4 separate regions of the Homo sapiens genome follow, and regions 2, 3 and 4 are each linked to region 1. Evidence: promoter capture Hi-C in 16 types of primary human blood cells and fetal thymus (Javierre and others, 2016). All regions are on one chromosome and are shown on one strand. Each heading gives the region's core, a stretch centred on a gene start or on the middle of the fragment in contact. The rest is flanking DNA. Distances are from core to core; before and after follow the strand shown.

Region 1 (4,499 bases), core at 1,111-3,610:
TTACTAATATTGGGAAGGTGAGTGGCATTTTCCAATTGAATAGATAGGACACTCTCCTATTAAGATTCTATTAAGACAAGCCAGGGAGCTGCCTCCCTGCAGCCATTTATATCTAAGCATTTCACAAACACAGAGTAATTCCTCCCCCATGACTCTGTCTCTATGGAGAATTTTAAGACCCTAGTTCTGAAAAGCATCCTGCAAGAGGGAAGATGGGTTGTAATATTTCCAGACCCTCTTGCCATTGTTGTTAGGGTCTCTTGAGTTTAGGGACTACACTGAACCACAGGTTGTTTAACATAAATAACTTGACCCATGCTAACTTCAATTATCCTGGTCTCCTGCCTCAATTTCCAAGAGAGCCACTCCCTCTGTTCATATGCCAAATAAGGAAACCAGAGAATGAGGGGGTCAGGAAAGGAGTGGGGGGCAGTAGAGAAGTGGCCTAGATGATTCTAGAGATAGCATGCCAGTGGGTGTGCTTCACAAGCTTCCCGCAAACTTCTTGAAAGTTGGATGGAGCTGGATTCATTTGAAAAGGCTGGCATGAGATGGACAGAGAGGAAATTGTGGGGGAATGGAGGACTCTTAAGATCTTTATCCTTTGGGGTAAGGGGAGAGAAAGGAATCCACTAGTGGTTTGGAATAGTCATGAATTAAATCACATATTTCCATGAAACAAGCCTGACAAAGCCTTAGCAAAGCTGGTAGGGGACTCTGGAGTGATAATTGCTCATCAGAGTTTTCCCCCATCAGGGCAAACTGGCCAGGCCCTCACCACCCTCAGTCACTGAATGTGGGATGTGGCTGCTTTGGGAAGGACGTGACCTCATGCAAGCACTCCTTGCAGCTGAGCATCCACTTATACCTTGAAGGGGGATCTAGGAAGCACATAGCCATATGTATGACAAACTTTGTGCCGATAGCTCTCTCTTTGTTTTGGATTTTTACCTTTAGACAAACACAGTGGTCCCCCCAGGTTTTAGAGTTAGACTGTTTGGAAACTCCTGCAAATATTTCTGGCTTGGATGGAAAGCCTGGAGTGTAATCAGCTTAGCTGGTGACCCATTTCCCCCCTCACTGGTTAGCTAAGCGGATTTTCTTTCCTGAGGCCTTTTGTAGGGTACAATGTATATCATGAGTCTTAAAGGAACTCATGGAATTTCAATATTCAACTGGAAGTGCCCTAGTTAATAGAGATGTAGACTTTTCGGATCTTAAAGAGTTTGTCAGTGGGAGGAGGATTAATGGGCACCAACTGTGTGCTAGGTGTTGTATTTAACATAATCTCAAACTTTTCTAAAAATATGGCTGGATGCAATGGCTTGCACCTGTAATCCCAGTTACTTGGGAGGCTGAGAAGTTTGAGACCAGCCTGGGCAACAGAGTGAGACCCTGTCTCTGAAAAAATACAAAAATTAAAAAATAATGAGAAATAAATTCCTGGAAACACTATGAGGTATTTGTTAATATTCTCATGATACAGAAAAGACTCACAGAGATTAAATTACATTCCAAAGATCTCAAGATTCAGAAGCACAAACAAGAGAGAAGACTCCTTGGGACAGGGTCTATAATAGGTTTGCCCTTGACCCTGTTCCTTTCATTGGGCAAGAGTATAGCTTAAAGCAAATGACCAGTAAATATTTGTGGAATAAATGAAGAGTGAAAGAGCAAGCATATAAAATTGTATACATCTCTTTTTAAAATGTAGGTTGCCCATTTTGATGAAGTGAAATGCACAGTATTAAGGAAAGGTTGTGAAGTCCAAGAAAACAATCTTTTGGTTTAATCAGAAAATACCATCTTGTATTTGAAACTGGTGACCCAAGCTGCAGAAGCAGCTGTCTTGATGCAGTAGGAGCATGACTACACCACCCGTGGTGTTGGGAAGAGAACAAATGATAGGAATGAACACAGAATTACTTTGTTACTCATCACCTATTTTCACTTTGAGAAAATGATTGGAAATTCTAGGTTTCAGGAATCAACTGCAAATGATGAAGCATTAGATGGATTCTGGCCACATCCCCTGAACAGTGGTGCTCAGAATAGCACTGCCTGCTTGTTTCTCAGACTTCTGTTTAAGACTCTAAGAAATGTAGAATCTGTATGGAATTGGACATCTGACTTGGAGTTTGCTTTTCAGACTCAAGAATTACACAAATGTTGAATTTCCTGACCCTAGTTAAGAGACATTGATCCCCCTTCGTGTGTTCTGACTGAACTTGTGGTCTGGGCTGTAACAGACCTCAGAGCTCCCATGGGCTTTCCTGCTGCTGTGTGACTTACATCATCATGGATTACCAATAATAGGATTTGCCACTCGGAAGCTGGGGCGATACTTATTCAAAACTCACAACGTATTTTCTTACAGAGAAATATGGCTTCAGTTTTTCATTACTTCCTGTTAGTTCTGGTCTTTCTGGATACACACGCAGCTCAGCCTTTCTGTCTGCCAGGATGCACTTGCTCAGAGGAGAGTTTTGGCAGGTGCGCTCTGCTGGCCAGATGTTAGAGGGTTATGGGGAATGGGTTTTCTTTGGGGATGATGTGGAGTGGAAGCAGGCTTAGAATTGGCAGGAAATCAGCAAAACTCTATGAGACTCATTCTAGTTGGGACTGAACTTTGCTGAACTGTGCATTTTTACCAAAATGAGTCTAACTCTTTTATTTCAATGAATAATAATATTTTTATTCTGATTCACATGTCTAATGCCAGGATCAGCCTGACCCCACTTTTCAGTCCCCTGTTGTTTATCTTAAAGCTGTTCTGGTTTCTTGTACAGGACTCTGCAGTGCACATCTGTCTCCTTGGGAAAGATCCCTGGGAACCTTTCTGAAGAGTTCAAGCAAGTGAGAATTGAAAATTCACCCTTATTTGAGATGCCCCAAGGGTCTTTCATCAACATGAGCACCTTGGAATACCTCTGGCTCAATTTTAACAATATCAGTGTGATCCACCTAGGAGCCCTGGAACACCTGCCAGAACTGAGGGAGCTGAGACTGGAGGGGAACAAGCTCTGCTCAGTACCATGGACAGCGTTCCGTGCCACCCCTCTCCTGAGGGTCTTGGATCTCAAACGCAACAAGATTGATGCACTCCCTGAGCTGGCTCTTCAATTCTTGGTCAGCCTGACCTACCTTGACCTATCCTCCAATAGGCTTACAGTTGTATCCAAGAGTGTCTTCCTGAACTGGCCAGCCTACCAGAAATGCCGGCAGCCTGACTGTGGGGCTGAGATTCTCTCCAGCCTGGTGGTGGCCCTGCATGACAACCCCTGGGTATGTGACTGTCGCCTAAGGGGGCTTGTCCAGTTTGTCAAGTCCATTACCCTCCCAGTCATCCTGGTGAATTCCTACCTGATATGTCAGGGCCCTCTGTCCAAGGCAGGGCAGCTTTTTCATGAAACTGAGCTTAGTGCTTGCATGAAGCCACAGATCTCAACCCCCAGTGCCAATATCACCATCCGGGCAGGACAGAATGTGACCCTGCGATGCTTGGCACAGGCCAGCCCCTCACCATCCATTGCATGGACTTATCCCCTGAGTATGTGGAGAGAATTTGATGGTAAGCCACATGCACCCTCTCAGTGTATCTGGAGGGAATGGAGAGGTCTGTAGCAAACCCATCCTCATTAGAGAGATTCAAAGCTGGGTCAGTCACGAAGGGTGGGTGCAAGTAAGATTGGGATAGCCCTGAATTATGCTCACTAGAACAGAAAAGATTTCAAGGTAGTGTTCCACTATTGGCATTATTTTAAATGTTTGCATACAGATCTCTTTGCATACAGAACATATACACATATATAAACACATATTTCAGGGCTAATTTAATATCTTATGCAAATATTATAAAATTTTATATGAGCAGATATAGTCTTTGGGAATCTTCTAGATGCAAAACACTGGACTATGTATTTTAGAATTCTAGAATTTTTTACTAGGATTGATTTTAGAGATGATCTATTAGTTATTTCCTTAACTTGCCTGAGCAGAATCACCTGGGGTGCTTGTTTGAAATAACACTGACATAAAATTGTTCAGACCTTATTGGCTTGAATTTGTAATACTGGGACCCAGGGAAAGGAAGTGACCTCTGTGGGCCCTGGGGCTGGAATTCAAACCTGCCTCTTCCTTCCTGGAACCCTCTGCTCTGTTTTCATACCTCAGCTGGGATTACCTTTAATGCTACTCTGTAGGGTTGGGCATATCACAAAGCCGGGGATGGCCTCCCTGGGGGTATCCCAAAGCTGAAAAGAAAAATCTTCGTACATTCCTCGTGTCCTGTCTTCTGTTCTCTGTCTAGAAGACAACTAGGAATAGCTGGGTAAAACTTGGGAAATATAGTCATTTGCCCAGGTATTTGTTATACATTATGACAAAACTCTGGATGGTTTAAAAATACCCAATTAACTGAATTTTCACATTCTGTATTGTTTTGATAATACCTTATTGGTTTGGCATTCAATATCAATGAAAGAAAATTATAGGATTTA
Region 2 (4,499 bases), core at 1,403-3,902, 250 kb before region 1:
AATAGAGATGACAGATGGCACATACACATATACACACAACACCAAACAAGGCTGGAAGACCATATATAAAATGTTAACAATGACTGTCATTGGCTTGTATGATTTAAGTACTTTAAATTTTTCTTAAGTTGTTTTGCTTCTCTATTTTCTATATTTGCTATAGAATAAATATATCGTTATCTCTCAATAAAAATAGGAAAGGAAAAATCCACTTTACAGTACTTCTCTTTTAAACGTACATATTTTGGCCTCAGGTTACTCATAAAGTATTCTTAGTATTCTATTTTTTCATGCTTTTAATGAGAGGTATTGAATTTTATTATTTCTATTGAGAAAATGACTTACATAATTTAATATGTCAAAAGATTTCTTTGTACTCACATTAGATTGAAACTAACTTGGTTGTAGAGGAGTTTTCTTATTACACTCTTACTGAAACTATGCCTTTTCAACCAAAAATACTTTTTTCTCAGTAATTTAAAATACAAGTATGTGGTCAGGCATGGTGGCTCATGTCTGTAATCCCAGCATTTGGGGAGGCTGAGGCAAAAAGATCACCTGAGCCCAGGAGTGTGAGACCCCTGTCTCTACAAAAAATAAAAAAATTAGCCAGGCATGGTGGTGCACACCTGTGGTCCCAGATACTTGGGAGGCTGAGGCAGGAGGATCACTTGAGCCCAGGAGGTCAAGGCTATAGTGGACCATAATTGCACCATTGCACTCTAGCCTGGGTGACAGACCAAGACCCTGTCTCAAAATAAATTAAATAACTTTTAAAATACAAGTATGTTTCTATGGATTATCACAGTATACTGCTAAGTCTTCTACCATGCAGTGCAAACCTGGGCACCTGTTTTTTTTCCTCTCAGGGAAGTTAAGTCCTTATTGTGATCTCTCACTAAGATTAAGCCTCTGTCCTCCCTTCCCAGAGCTATGATCCTTTTCTCTTCTCTATTCCTTCTAGCCCCCTCACCCTCCTGCAACCATTCAAAAGAAAAGCAACTAAAATAAGACTGCTGTATACAAGTTGTGTAAACACTTGCATAAGTCACTTCTTAGTCTTAGCTTCTTCACATGCAGAAAAAGAGTGAGCTTACTATCATTTAAGCACACTGGAGGTTTCTACAAGCATCTTGAGGGATGGAACTTTATATTTACACATGTATTTTTATATTCTTCTTTATATTTACACATCCAAATTAATACAGTGCCTGGCATGAAGTAGGCACATAAATATCTGCTGAATAAGCAAGTGAATATCTGCTTTTCCTCCTTTCCCCTTTTCTACTACTATATTTCTTCCTCTTATTTCCTGTTGATTCTCTACTTCAGAGATCTTATTTGCAGCCATTAAGTGACACAAAATCCCCTTGGACAAATCTCAATACATTCAAATTTTTGCTCTGCTGCTGTTGGCAGCAAACCACTCTCCTTCAAAGGCTCTTCAATGTGCTTTTGGGGAAAAGAACCTAGAACTAGCAGTCAAGAGTCCTAAGTTATAGTACTAGCTCAGCCACTTATTAATTATGGGAACTTTGCTATGCCAGTTAATCTCCCCAGCTTTTGCTACCTTATCTACAAAACAAAGGTATTTGGCCAGATGATTCCTATAGTAACTTTTATAGTTACTTTTTTTATAGTTACTTTTGTCTGATGAGGAGGAAGACTAACATCCAGTTTCCAGAACAGTGAGGCTGAAGGAGCCAGAGGTGGTATAAAGACTTCCATGAGGATGGCAAAATGGAACTTATCATGCTTAATGGAATCACCAGTCTTCTTAGTAGTACAATTATAAGGCATAACATCCCTATGGGGTAAATGGAGACACCTGGAAAGCCCAAACTTCCATCTAGAAGCAAGGGGCATGGTCTTCTATTAAACAACTGTCTGCAAACAGATGAGCTTCCACCGCCTTTGACATTAAATAATATCACATCATCTTTTTCTGTTGGTATCTTTTGCTTTCTATGATTCAAACACAACCTTCATTTTCTTCACCAAGCTCCTTGATTCTTTCAACTAGACTTTCCCACATCCTTTGAACCTTATAGACTTACACAGCACTTTAACTACATCAATGCATTCCCAATTTCTTAAGAAGTACTTATAAACAGAGGAATCCTTATTTGTCTGTATTTCCTTCCCTAATTCCCCACTTCTAGTTTGAAAGCCAAATATCTGGGATGAAAGGGGATCATCAAACTTTTGTTGAATAAATTAATTCCTACCATTGTATCTTATACAGAGCACAAAAAAAATACTTGTTAGATGAAAAGAAACAAAACTCTTTTATAAACTTTAAAGGCTTATGGCTAAGCTTTATAAACTGAATTGCTGATTATATTAGCCATTATATTTCTCTGTTCCTTTGTGTTACTAGGATTCCACTCCTAAATATAAGGCAAAAGAGTCAAGGCTGACTTATTAGGCAATCTCTTAACAAGAAATGTCTACTACCTGGCCCCAAACAACAGCAGAATGACTAATGTCCATATGATAATTCTCTGGCTCACACACATCCTGCACTAAGTTCTGAGAACTCAGATTAAATGATAGAGTATTTTTAGCACTAAACATGTTTTGAGATATAACATTTTTGAAAAACAAATAAGCATGGAATACATAGTTACTTCCTATTTAAAATAAACCATTCCCTAGTTCTGCCTAAAACATAACTTTTATTGTCTGTATCTTCGTGCATTTATATTTCCTAACACCCTCAACATTTGAGTAATTATAATAAACATATTTGAAAAGTTTTAACAAAAAAGGAATATGCTAAATCATATATTTTCAAAGTGTCATATGCTGCTAAAGTGGGATGACTGCATACAGGACTGCTATTTCCTTTAAGGCATGTGGAACTACTCTCATAAATCATGCAATAAGAGGAGAGTAGACACGCAAATAAAATGAACTATAGTATGTAGAATGAAAAAGCTATTAAAATGCACATTCACTTACATAAGACACACAAGAGAAGCTTTAGGAAAACACATAAACACCTAAGAGACAAGCAAAAATAAATTACCTACAAAAAAATTAACAGCCATGACAGATTCAAAATCATTAGAGATTGCTGTAAAAAGAGTGAAATAAAACATCAAAATAGCAAATGACTGGAGAGGAGGCTAAGAGCAAATGTTACTTACAGGAATTCGTCTCCAGGGTGTTTGGGTATATTTATCAGCATAAGTGCATTTTTCCTCTTTACATTTTTGGTGGCAGATATGCTGAGTTGCCTAAACAAAAACACAAAATTTTTACATTGGTTTAATTCTGCATATACACACCAAGACACACAAGAGAAACTTTAGGAAAACACATAAAACACCTAAGAGACAAGCAAAACTAAATTACCTATAAAAAAAATTAACAGCCATGACAGGAGGTAATCAGGGCTCTTTTAGGGGGTATGTAACCAAATCAACAAAAAAGTCACACATGGCAAAATAGTTCTGGCTACTTTTTTGAAGAAAAAATGTTATCACAGCCAACAATAAGGTCTATTCAGTGGTCTCTCATCTTATTCAGGGAGTGGGTTTGAGAGTCAGCCTGTAAGGTTAGAATTTTGAATAATCTAAATTACCCTTGGCAATCTCTTATATTGTCCATAAAACATACAATATATGATTTTATGTATATCAATATAAAGAGTTAAGTATATGGATGTAGAATATATAGGGATATTCAGTATATAAAGAATACAACTGCAGAATTTACAGTATTTCCCTAAACTGTCATGGTACTACAGTCACTAAAGCTCAGTTTCTTAAATCCATATTTTAATGGGACTCTGCTGGACATTGAATACCACCAGTCCACTTGTCAGGATGTCTGTTCTCATGTGCAGTGTGATGAAGCCTCTTTCATGATGTATTGACTTTACTGGACTGAAATATTTTGAAGAGTGTCAGCCCTTTGACAAGATCCATCTGACCATTTCTGTTCACAAATGATTTCTCCACACGATTCCACTCAAAGCACACTCATTTATATAACACAAAGTAACTTTCCCAAATAATCATCACTTTCAAAAAAGATCATGAAAATACTGATAAAAAGAATTCTCCCGGCCAGGCACGGTGGCTCACGCCTGTAATCCCAGCACTTTGGGAGGCCGAGGCGGGCGGATCACGAGGTCAGGAGAAGCAGACCATCCTGGCTAACACAGTGAAACCTCATCTCTACTAAAAATACAAAAAATTTGCCGGATGTGGTGGCGGGCACCTGTAGTCCCAGCTACTCCGGAGGCTGAGGCAGGAGAATGGCATGAACCCGGAAGCAGAGCTTGCAGTGAGCACAGATTGCACCACTGCACTCCAGCCTGGGTGACAGAGGGAGACACCATTTCAAAAAAAAAAAAAAAAAAAAAAAAAAAGAGAGAGAATTCACCCTTAGTGACAAGCTAGAAAATAACCACATTATTTGTTAAACAACCTCACTGGAGGTAGATATACTTTCTCATAGGAAACTAAAAAATTCTTGATTATTCCATC
Region 3 (4,499 bases), core at 1,225-3,724, 170 kb after region 1:
AATCTATAGCTAAGGTCTGAGTCCTGAAGAATTTCCTCTGGAGCTTCTGTAAATTTACTTAATCTAAATGGGATCAGGTGCTGGGGTGATTACCCTTATCTCGTCTCCTGCTAAATCACGGAGGTTTAGGGAGTTCCTTCAGGTCCTCAATAACCTTGTTTGTGGAGGCCTGGGGAGTTTATTCAGACCCACAATAAAACGTAATCCTAGATGGTCCTGTTAAGAATTCCTTTGTTATTTTTTCCTGCATTAAGTCCCAGGAAAGGCCTAGGCAAAACTCTTGGTGGGCTTTTGTTACATCCCAGCCTTTGTATAAGGGCACTGGCTTTTAATATTCAACTTAACCACTCAGTACTGAAACAGTTGTTATGGAGGCTTGAGTTACTGAGACCTAGCCTGCCACAGCCAGAGAAAGCACTCAGTTTGTCCTGGATGGTGGGTGCCCTAGGGATATGGTTGCAGCACCCACAGCATCTGCAGTAGGTACTTATCACACACAGTATATATTGATCTATGTTCCTTATTGTCTGTGTTCCTGCCCTAGAATGTAAGCTTTAGGAATGCAAGGGTTTGGTCTGGTTTATAGACTGCAGCTAGAACAGTGCCTGGCACATAGGGAAGGCTCAATTCATTTCTGGTGAATTAATGAATGCATTTCCCAAGGGTCTCAAGGAAAGAATGTGAGCATTAATGGCTCTGGGTTACCCACAGTATTACTTTGTGGACTCTGGAGATCCCTTTGCTAATCTTGGGCTGGTAAACAGAGAGACATTCGGAGCAGCCCACACATTCCCTTTCAAAATGACTGTGAGAGTGGCAGCTTTAAAAGAGTAAGGCAGAACACAGTTTTTAATACTTCTGGACAACCAACACAAGGCTCAAGATTGCTTATTTTTCAAGGGTAATTGCAAACCATTGCAGCTGCACTGTCCCGAGCTTGCTGGGCATATTTCACTGCAGTGGAATACACCTGTGACTGCTGCTACCAAGGGATGGCAAACCCAACCAACACAGAGCCTTCTCCAACACCGAGCCTTCCCCAAGGGAGTTCAGCTCATCCATCAAAATGTTAACTCCTCAGCTGTGAATGTTCAGGAATCTTGAAGGCACCATCAACATATTCAATTTGTACTCTGGTTTCAGTATAAGAGGAACACTCTCACTCCAGGTGTTTTATTTACCAGTACTGTTTTGAGAGAGGGTCTGTATTTCAGGGTATTTTATTTTACTTTGGGATGAAAGTCTACATTTGTCAATTTTATCTGGCATTAAATCTTCTTAGACTGTAATGGAAAAGGCCAAATATTTATTTTATCTGATATTTTTATGCATCAGAAATTTTTTTATGGGATTCAAAGAATAGAATCTGAGTTGGGATTTGGACTTTCGGATCTGACTGAAGGTCCAGGTAACTCAAGTGGAGACAAGTACAAATTCCAAATTAAGTTGGTGATAAATTTACAGAACAGCATGGAATTTATCCCTGAGCCTGCAGTCAGGTTTTTAAAAAATGATCAAGGGTATGAATGCATGATTCAAAGTAATCTCAGGAAGCAACACAAAGTTCAGAAGCTTTATCAATGCTAGATAGATTAATGGGGTTTGAAATGAAATATCATAAATCAAGTGTGAGCAGACGTTAATCCAAATCGTGCCTCCAGCTTGGGAGATTATGTGTAAGATAGGAGATAGTTACTCATAAGAGACTACTAGAAAAAAAGACCTTGTTTTTAGTGAGGGCCTATTTTGTCTCAGGTTCAGAACCAGGGGCTCAGGAATCAGGGCTGCAAAAGGGCATGTCCCCATTCACACAGCAGCACAAAGAAGAGGGAAATTTTCCTGCACTGTCTTCAGATTTAGATTTAGATACCAGAGAATTCAGGGAAATAGAGCCATAGTATTCTCAGGGCCTGGCTGATGGCTGATTCCAGCAGTACGCTGTTTTGAGAAGGCAGTTGCTGAAGTGGCTAAGAGCCTTGGTTTTCCCATTCACAGTACAGAAATGACAAGAGTAGTAAGTCACAAGTTTGTTGGAATGATTAAATGAGATACTCCAAGTACTCAGCACATAGTAAACATTAAAACATGTCAGTATTTTCACTATTAATGAACATAATGTGGTCTGATGTGGCAAATTTCTCAAAGCTATGTCTTTCCCTTTAACTTTTCAGTCCAGAAGCCACTGGGATTCCTGGAGTGTTTTCGGAGCAGTGAGTACCACAGACTTTAGCAAGCACACTGGATGAGAATCCAACAGTGACCTTGCTTGAGGAAGATGAACAACGCTTCAGACAGCATGTCAAATAGATTCAAGTTTTAAGAAATCAGGAAGAAACCATCTTGGAAAACAAATATTGTGAGCAAATTGACCACAAAGCATGTTAACTTCCAGTACTGGTAATGGTTAAGTTCAGTTGCGGGTAACAGAAAAACTGAAGCTAATTGTGGTTTAAAAATACTTTTTTAAAAAGTTTGTTTCTCTTTTACTGAAGGAACCAAGAGGTTTGGCCCCTTTGCGAGCATCAGGAACTCAGGCTGCTCCTAACCATGTTGCTCTGCCACCCTGCAGATGCTGCCCTTAGCTCAAGATGGCTGCTTAGGCTCCAGCCTTCACATCCATATTCCAGCCAGCATAAATCAGGAAAAGACTAACAAGGGCAGGCCTTCTCCTTTTAAAAATCTTTCAAAAGATTTCACATGATACTTGCACTTATATTTTGTTGTCCAGAGCTTTGCTATGTGCCAGCAGCAATGGTGGCTAGAAAATTTAGTCTTTATTTTAGATAACTATGTGCTTATCAAAAAATTGGGGCTTTTTTTTTCTTTGTTTTACTAGGAAGACAGAGAAATGAGATAGATACTGGTCTCTGTCACACATCCCTTCCCTTTGTTCTGTAGTGGATACAGTCAGCCACATTGGACACACTAAGGTGTGTGTTTCTGCCCATTTTTGATGTGGGAGATAATGACAAAGAATTGGGCTCCTCTATTTTACAGCCAAAATTAAAGGGTATGATTGTTTTTATTTTACAGATTAGAAACTTAGAGATGCTAAGTATCTTCCCCAAGATAACACAGTGAGTGGTAGACACAGGATTCCAGCCAAGGTTGGTCTGACTGACAGCAAAGCCCCTGCCCTTCTCTTCCCCTCTCCACCAGCAAGCTGTTGGTAGAAGGCTTGGTGTGGAAACCCCTCACCAGTCACACAGTTGAGAGGCCATTCAAACATCCACATGTGTACACCAGGCAAACTGCTCTGGAAATAGAGAGTAACAGCTCTTTGTCCTAGAACATTTGCTAACCCTGTGCAGGTCAGGTACACTTCTAGTCAAAGGTTCCAGGCTCAAGGGCTGGGGCTTTTGCCATGAGAAGCTTCCCCTGGGATGCTGAAGGTCAAAATAAGGAGGGTTTTTTCCTTCAAGTGTTTATTGAAGGAGCATTTTGTTTTCATCTCGAATAAAGCAAAGTGGTTCATCTTCTATGATTTAATTCTCATTCCCACTCTCATTCTAATTTTTTTTTCTTCCTGGAAAAGTTTGCTGCAAGACCGCTCTCTTTTATTTTCACTGAGAAATGATGGGGGAAAGACGTAATCGGTTTTGGTGAACTTCATTCAACTTAAAACCCAGGGTGTCCTCCACTAAAATGAAACAAACCAGAAAAACCCAAACACACATTATAATCACTGATAAAACATCAGGTTTACAGACATTCTTGATGGAAGCAGTATCAGGGCACTACTGTATGCTCTGTAGCAACAAAGCTGGAGGACACAAAGAGGGTTCCTAGCGATTGTGTGAAACATGATTTTTACTTGACAATTTCTTTTGTCCAGTATGACTCACTTTATGCATGCATTAGAAATGTATAAGGTTATTAGGTGGCAGAGTCCCAAAAGAATCATCATAATTAAGGACAGTAGGATGCACCAGAAGGAACCATAAGCTGTGGAATTGCATAGATCTGGATTATTCAGTAGCTGAGTCTATTTCTAGATTGTGGCTTTCGGCTGGTCTTTAACCATCAGTTTCTTCACTTATAAAATAGAAATAATTACACCTGGTTTGTAGGGAGATTTTTAGGATATGTATATATATATATACATTCTCATTGATAAGTGGCTTAAGATACAAGGTATCAAAATAATGTATGTCATAGAACAGAGGTCAGTGTGCACATTGATCCTTCAGCTGGAGACCTTCATTAGTTCCGGTGGGCATTTTGTATCAGTTATCTATTGATGTGTAACAAACCACTCCAAAACTTAGAGCCTTAATGCACAGGATTCTACAACCTGGCAGGGTTCTGTAGGGACAGCTCACTGCTGCTCCATGTGGTGTGGACTGGGGTCACTCTGGTGGCAGCACAAACCAGGAACTTGGCTGGGGCAGGAGCAAAATGGCTATACTCACCTACCTGGCACCTTTTGTGTAATGACAGGAACACTCGGCAGCTGGCCAGCTGTCTCTTCCTCTCCACATGCTCTCTCCAGCAGAGTG
Region 4 (4,499 bases), core at 1,000-3,499, 150 kb after region 1:
CCAAGAGGAAGTCTCTCAAAACTAGAAGGGAAGGGTGTTTTCCTCACATCAATCCAGCTTCGGAGACATTCTATGAGTGACATATGCCTCTTCCCCCAAAAATAGTAATGAAGTGTTCTGTGTGCTAACAACATAGCTTAAAAAAAAAGTAAAACAAAATTCTGCATTTTTATAAAACTTGATAAAAATAGTATTTCAAATTGTACAGTCACCAGAAGTACACAGTTATAAAAAACGCACACATTTCACTTGGCATCTCCAGTACCTTCAGCTTTCTGTGCCTCGTCTCTTTTGGCATCCCCATTTTCTGCTGGGTTATTCCCCTCCTTGCCAGCATCAGCTTTTCTTTTCTTTTTTTTTTGAGACAGAGTCTCGCTCTGTTGCCCAAGCTGGAGTGCAGTGGCGCCATCTCGGCTAACTGCAACCTCTGCCTTCCAGGTTCAAGTGATTCTCCTGCCTCAGCCTCCCGAGTTGCTGGGATTACAGGCATGCACCACCATGCCCAACTAATTTGTGTATTTTTCAGTAGAGGTGGAGTTTCATCATGTTGGCCAGGCTGGTCTCGATCTCCTGACCTCAAGTGATCCGCCGGCCTCGGCCTCCCAACATGCCGGGGTTACAGGCGTAAGCCACCGCGCCTGGCTCCCTTTTTCCCTTTGGGTACCTTCTCTCCCTTCTTTGCAGGGGCATTTTTAGGCTTGGGCTCTGGCTTTGGAGGAGCAGGTTTGGCAGACAGCCTCATGGATCTTCTCTGTGGTTTGTCCTTCACCTTGGCTTTATCTCCTTTAGCATCACCTTCAGCCTTTCTCTTGGGCACGGTGGCGGCGACAGCGGTGGGACGTAGGCGCTGGGGCAGGATGCAGCAGGCTTTGGTCAGATCAGTGGTTGTTCTCGCCTCTTCTCACACTGCCCCTAGAATTTTATATTCAGCAAAATTATTCTTCTAAAATGAAGAAGAAATAATTTCTCAGGCCAATAAAAACTGAAAAGAAATTTTACCACCAGATACTCCTTGCAAGAAATGTTACAAGAAGTTTTCAGGCAGAAGGAAAATGATACAGGTGAGAAACTTGGATCTGTATAAAGAATGGAAGAGTGTTGGTAAAGGAATAAACAAAGGTAAAATAAAATAATTTATTTTCTTATTCTTAATTGATCTAAAAGAGAACTGTTCGAAGTAATAATAGTAACAGTGTATTGGGTGATGATTAGCATGTAGATAATTAAAATGAATGAATGCAATGTCACAAGGGGCTAGAGAGAAATTGGGACCAGGTGCTTGTTATCAGGTGCCTGCCCTACATGTGAAGAGTTATGATGTTATTTGAGAATAGATTTAGATTAGTTAAGAACATATATATGATATACTTTAGAGGTAGAAAATTTTAAAAGAAGTATAATGGGTGCACTAGGAAGATAAAATTCAATCATATCAAATACTCAAAACCAGAGAAGGAAGGAAGGAAAAGGAGGGCAAAAAAAAAAAAAAGAAAGAACAGATGGGTGCGGTGGCATGCAGTTGTAGTCCCAGCTACTTAGGTGACTGAGGTGGGAGAATCATTAGAGCCCAGGAGTTTGAGACTAACCTGGGTAACACAGTGAGACACCATCACCTTTTTTTTTTTTTTAAAAAGAAAGAACAAATGCAACCAATAGATAGCAGTGGCAAACGTGGTAGATACTAATCTAACTCTATTAATAATCACCTTAAATATAGGTGGTTTCAATACACTGATAGGAAGACCGATTTTCAGACTGGAGAGTGAATTGAAAAAATAAGACTCAACTGTATGTTGTCTACAGGTATTCCACTTCAAATACAAAGACCCAGGTTAAAAGTCAAAGTAAACATATGGAGATTAATATTGAAAGGTCTTTGTGAACGTTTGCAAAAGGTGGGGGGACATATGTCAGAAGGCAGATAAGTCCAGCCTAGATGATTTAACATTTTTGTGTAGCGGCGCAGGAATCCAGAGGGTAATTTGTTCTCACGCTGATGACTGGAAACTGTCATTTCTTATAGTGGAGGTTTTACTGGTTTCAGTGTTGCTAGAGCAGCAGCTCTCAAAATGGTCCGTGGGCCAGCAGTATTTGCATCACCTGGGAACTTGTTAGAAATGTAGATTCTTGGGCTCCAACCCAGGCCTACTAAAGTGGAAGCTCTGGGGGTGGGGCCCACAGTCTGTGTTTACTAAGCCTTCCAGGTGATTCTGATGCACACTCAGGTGTGAAAACCTCTGCTGTAGAGCACGCTTATGTGAGTGTGTTCATGCACCACATTCTGGGCATTTTCAAGAATAGGTATTCATTCTCAGACATATGCTCCCTGCTACTGCTTCCTATGTAGGGATGCATTCATTTTCCTAGTCAAACTGGAACAATGTCATATGTGTCTGAAAATCCCTTAAACTTTGCTTCCCAAGGGTCGGTTCAAGACGAGAAGCATCTGTATCTCCTGCGGGCTTGTAAAGAAGGCAGAATCGTGGGCCCATCCCAGATCTACTTAAGCAGAATCTTCATTTTTGACATGATCCTGTAAGTTTATTGTAATCTAATTAAGCAATTAGGTAGTGAAAATGCTCATTAAGAAGAACAAGCATTGAAAATTGAGTAAAGAAAATAAAACAACCACATTTATTGTCATAAAAGGGGTTCTGGACTGGAGTTTAGGACCACTGGGGCAAAGCTGAAGGGTCTAAGATGCCTCCTGAAAAAGAAAGCCAAAGGAAGTTTCCTTATAAAAGATGACAACAAAGAAGTCTTCAACCAGCCATAGCCAAGAGGATGTGATTGGGAGGGCTTTGAAGAGTTTGTCACTCCATTGTGTCTGAGTCTTTCTAAAAATTATTTTATTTCTAAAAATTTCATTATTATTATTTCAGAGCAGAGTCTCACTCTGTCACCTAGGCTGGAGTGCAGTGGTGTGATCATAGCTCACTGCAGCCTCAAGTTCCTGGGCTCAACTAAGCCTCCTGCCTCAGCCTCCTGAGTAGTTGGGACTACGGGTGTGCACCACCACACGTGGCCAATTTTTCTATAGAAACAGGGTCTCACTATGTTGCCTAAGCTAATCTTGAACCCTTGGCCTCAAGCAATCCTCCTGCCTTGGCCTCCCAAAGTGTTGGGACACAGGCATGAGCCACTTTGCCTTGACTGGGTCCAATTCTTTACTCCTTGGATTTCATACAATAATTGGGTGTCCCTTGGAGAAGGGGTGTGCTGTAGATAAAACCTGGCAAGGCTGTTTCTCTAAGACATGAGGGCATCAATCATATGGCTTTGACACTTCTGCAACAGAGCATAAGATGAAGGAAGGGAGACTGCTGTGCAGTGTTGATATCTTGGGGGTTCCAGGTTTCAGTTGTAGCAGGAGAAGGACACATCCTGGCAACATCTGGCAGGGAATAGAGAAACAATAGCAGCACTCAGATGAAGCTGACATGTTCATAAATACACCTGAGATATACCTGGGGACTCCAAAAAACACTTAAAGGGCACTTCAGGGGCATGACCCAATGAAAAATGAGTCATTTCTGCTAATCTCACCACATGAGCTCCCATAGGCTATGATGGGCTGGACAAAGTCCTATTCACTTTCAAAGACAGTTTTGTGCCTCTCTCATTTGGATCATTCCTTCTACTAGCTCTTTGTTTAGGCTGCAGAAGCATTTAGAACCCACACAAGAAAAAGCCTAGGGAGCAATATTATGTAGGAGAGTTTCCTTTGCCCCATGGTTTGATCTGTTTCTCTGCTTGATGTTCTTTATTTTGGGAAATGAGTGGCCTTAACATCCCCTTGAAATAGGTAATGCAGGTCAGCATATTTGTTAAGTTTTTTTGTACCTTCCAGGCCTTGTCCTCCTTGAATAATACAGTCTGAAATCAGCTGAAGTCCAAACTACCATATTCTCAGCTTTTATCTCATACCTTACAAGTTTCCCCCTAAGAATACTGTGTTTGCTTTCCAGAACTTTGGTTGTGTATTTTATTTCCTCTATGGAAAGATCCAGGTAAAGTTTAAATTACAGTTAATTGATAGAGGCCAAGGAGGCATACAGAAAAATTTAATTAGTTTCCAAGCAAAGTAATGTGTATTAATCTGACTTTCCACACTAGAGACTGCATATCTTAAGGTGCACACAAAATGTTCTGTTTAAACATCCAGGGTTTGAGTCATTTTCCTAGCTTATTTTCTGTCTAGACAGAGAAGAGAATCAAATCCCTTTTTAAATTATAAAATTGTTCTGTGATTAGTTATCATGCCTGTCTCCTGAGGCATGCACGGAACTTCATAAATAGTTAACACCTGTTAACGCTTGATTATTCACAGAGCAGATGCTGTTGGTGTCCCCTGCTACAGGCCCTCAGTCCTTCTCTGCTTTTGGCTGTAGTGTGGTGGGAGCTTTCAGGCAGACCACCTCCCACCACAAGCACTCATGGATCTCAGCTCTTTCTGCCTTAAGTATTTATTCAGTGTGCAAGGAGCTCACTCAGCCCAC

The links. Contacts are between HindIII fragments. The CHiCAGO score rates a contact against its expected background, and 5 or more counts as called.
Region 2: a contact is called between a fragment that was not itself captured here and the fragment with the promoter of LRIT2 in region 1, in 1 of 17 cell types (neutrophils). The highest score is 5.7, in neutrophils.
Region 3: a fragment that was not itself captured here is called in contact with the fragment with the promoter of LRIT2 in region 1 in 1 of 17 cell types (neutrophils); the score reaches 5.7 in neutrophils.
Region 4: a contact is called between a fragment that was not itself captured here and the fragment with the promoter of LRIT2 in region 1, in 1 of 17 cell types (neutrophils). The highest score is 5.1, in neutrophils.

What each region holds. Positions count from the first base shown.
Region 1 is chr10:84,223,405-84,227,903 of GRCh38, reverse strand. It overlaps LRIT2 (leucine rich repeat, Ig-like and transmembrane domains 2), which reads left to right and starts at 2,360. Exons shown (of 3, transcript NM_001017924.5): 1 at 2,360-2,493; 2 at 2,790-3,571. The coding sequence starts at 2,384. The HindIII fragment of the contact is 7,130 bases long and covers 493-4,499 here.
Region 2 is chr10:84,476,318-84,480,816 of GRCh38, reverse strand. CCSER2 (coiled-coil serine rich protein 2) reads right to left here. Exons shown (of 10, transcript NM_001284240.2): 9 at 3,153-3,242. Among named protein-coding and RNA genes, the nearest start is that of CCSER2, 150 kb to the right of the region's middle. The HindIII fragment of the contact is 666 bases long and covers 2,320-2,985 here.
Region 3 is chr10:84,054,793-84,059,291 of GRCh38, reverse strand. No RefSeq gene overlaps it. Among named protein-coding and RNA genes, the nearest start is that of GHITM, 82 kb to the left of the region's middle. The HindIII fragment of the contact is 1,800 bases long and covers 1,575-3,374 here.
Region 4 is chr10:84,077,744-84,082,242 of GRCh38, reverse strand. It overlaps the pseudogene HMGN2P8. Among named protein-coding and RNA genes, the nearest start is that of GHITM, 60 kb to the left of the region's middle. The HindIII fragment of the contact is 6,787 bases long and covers 1-4,499 here.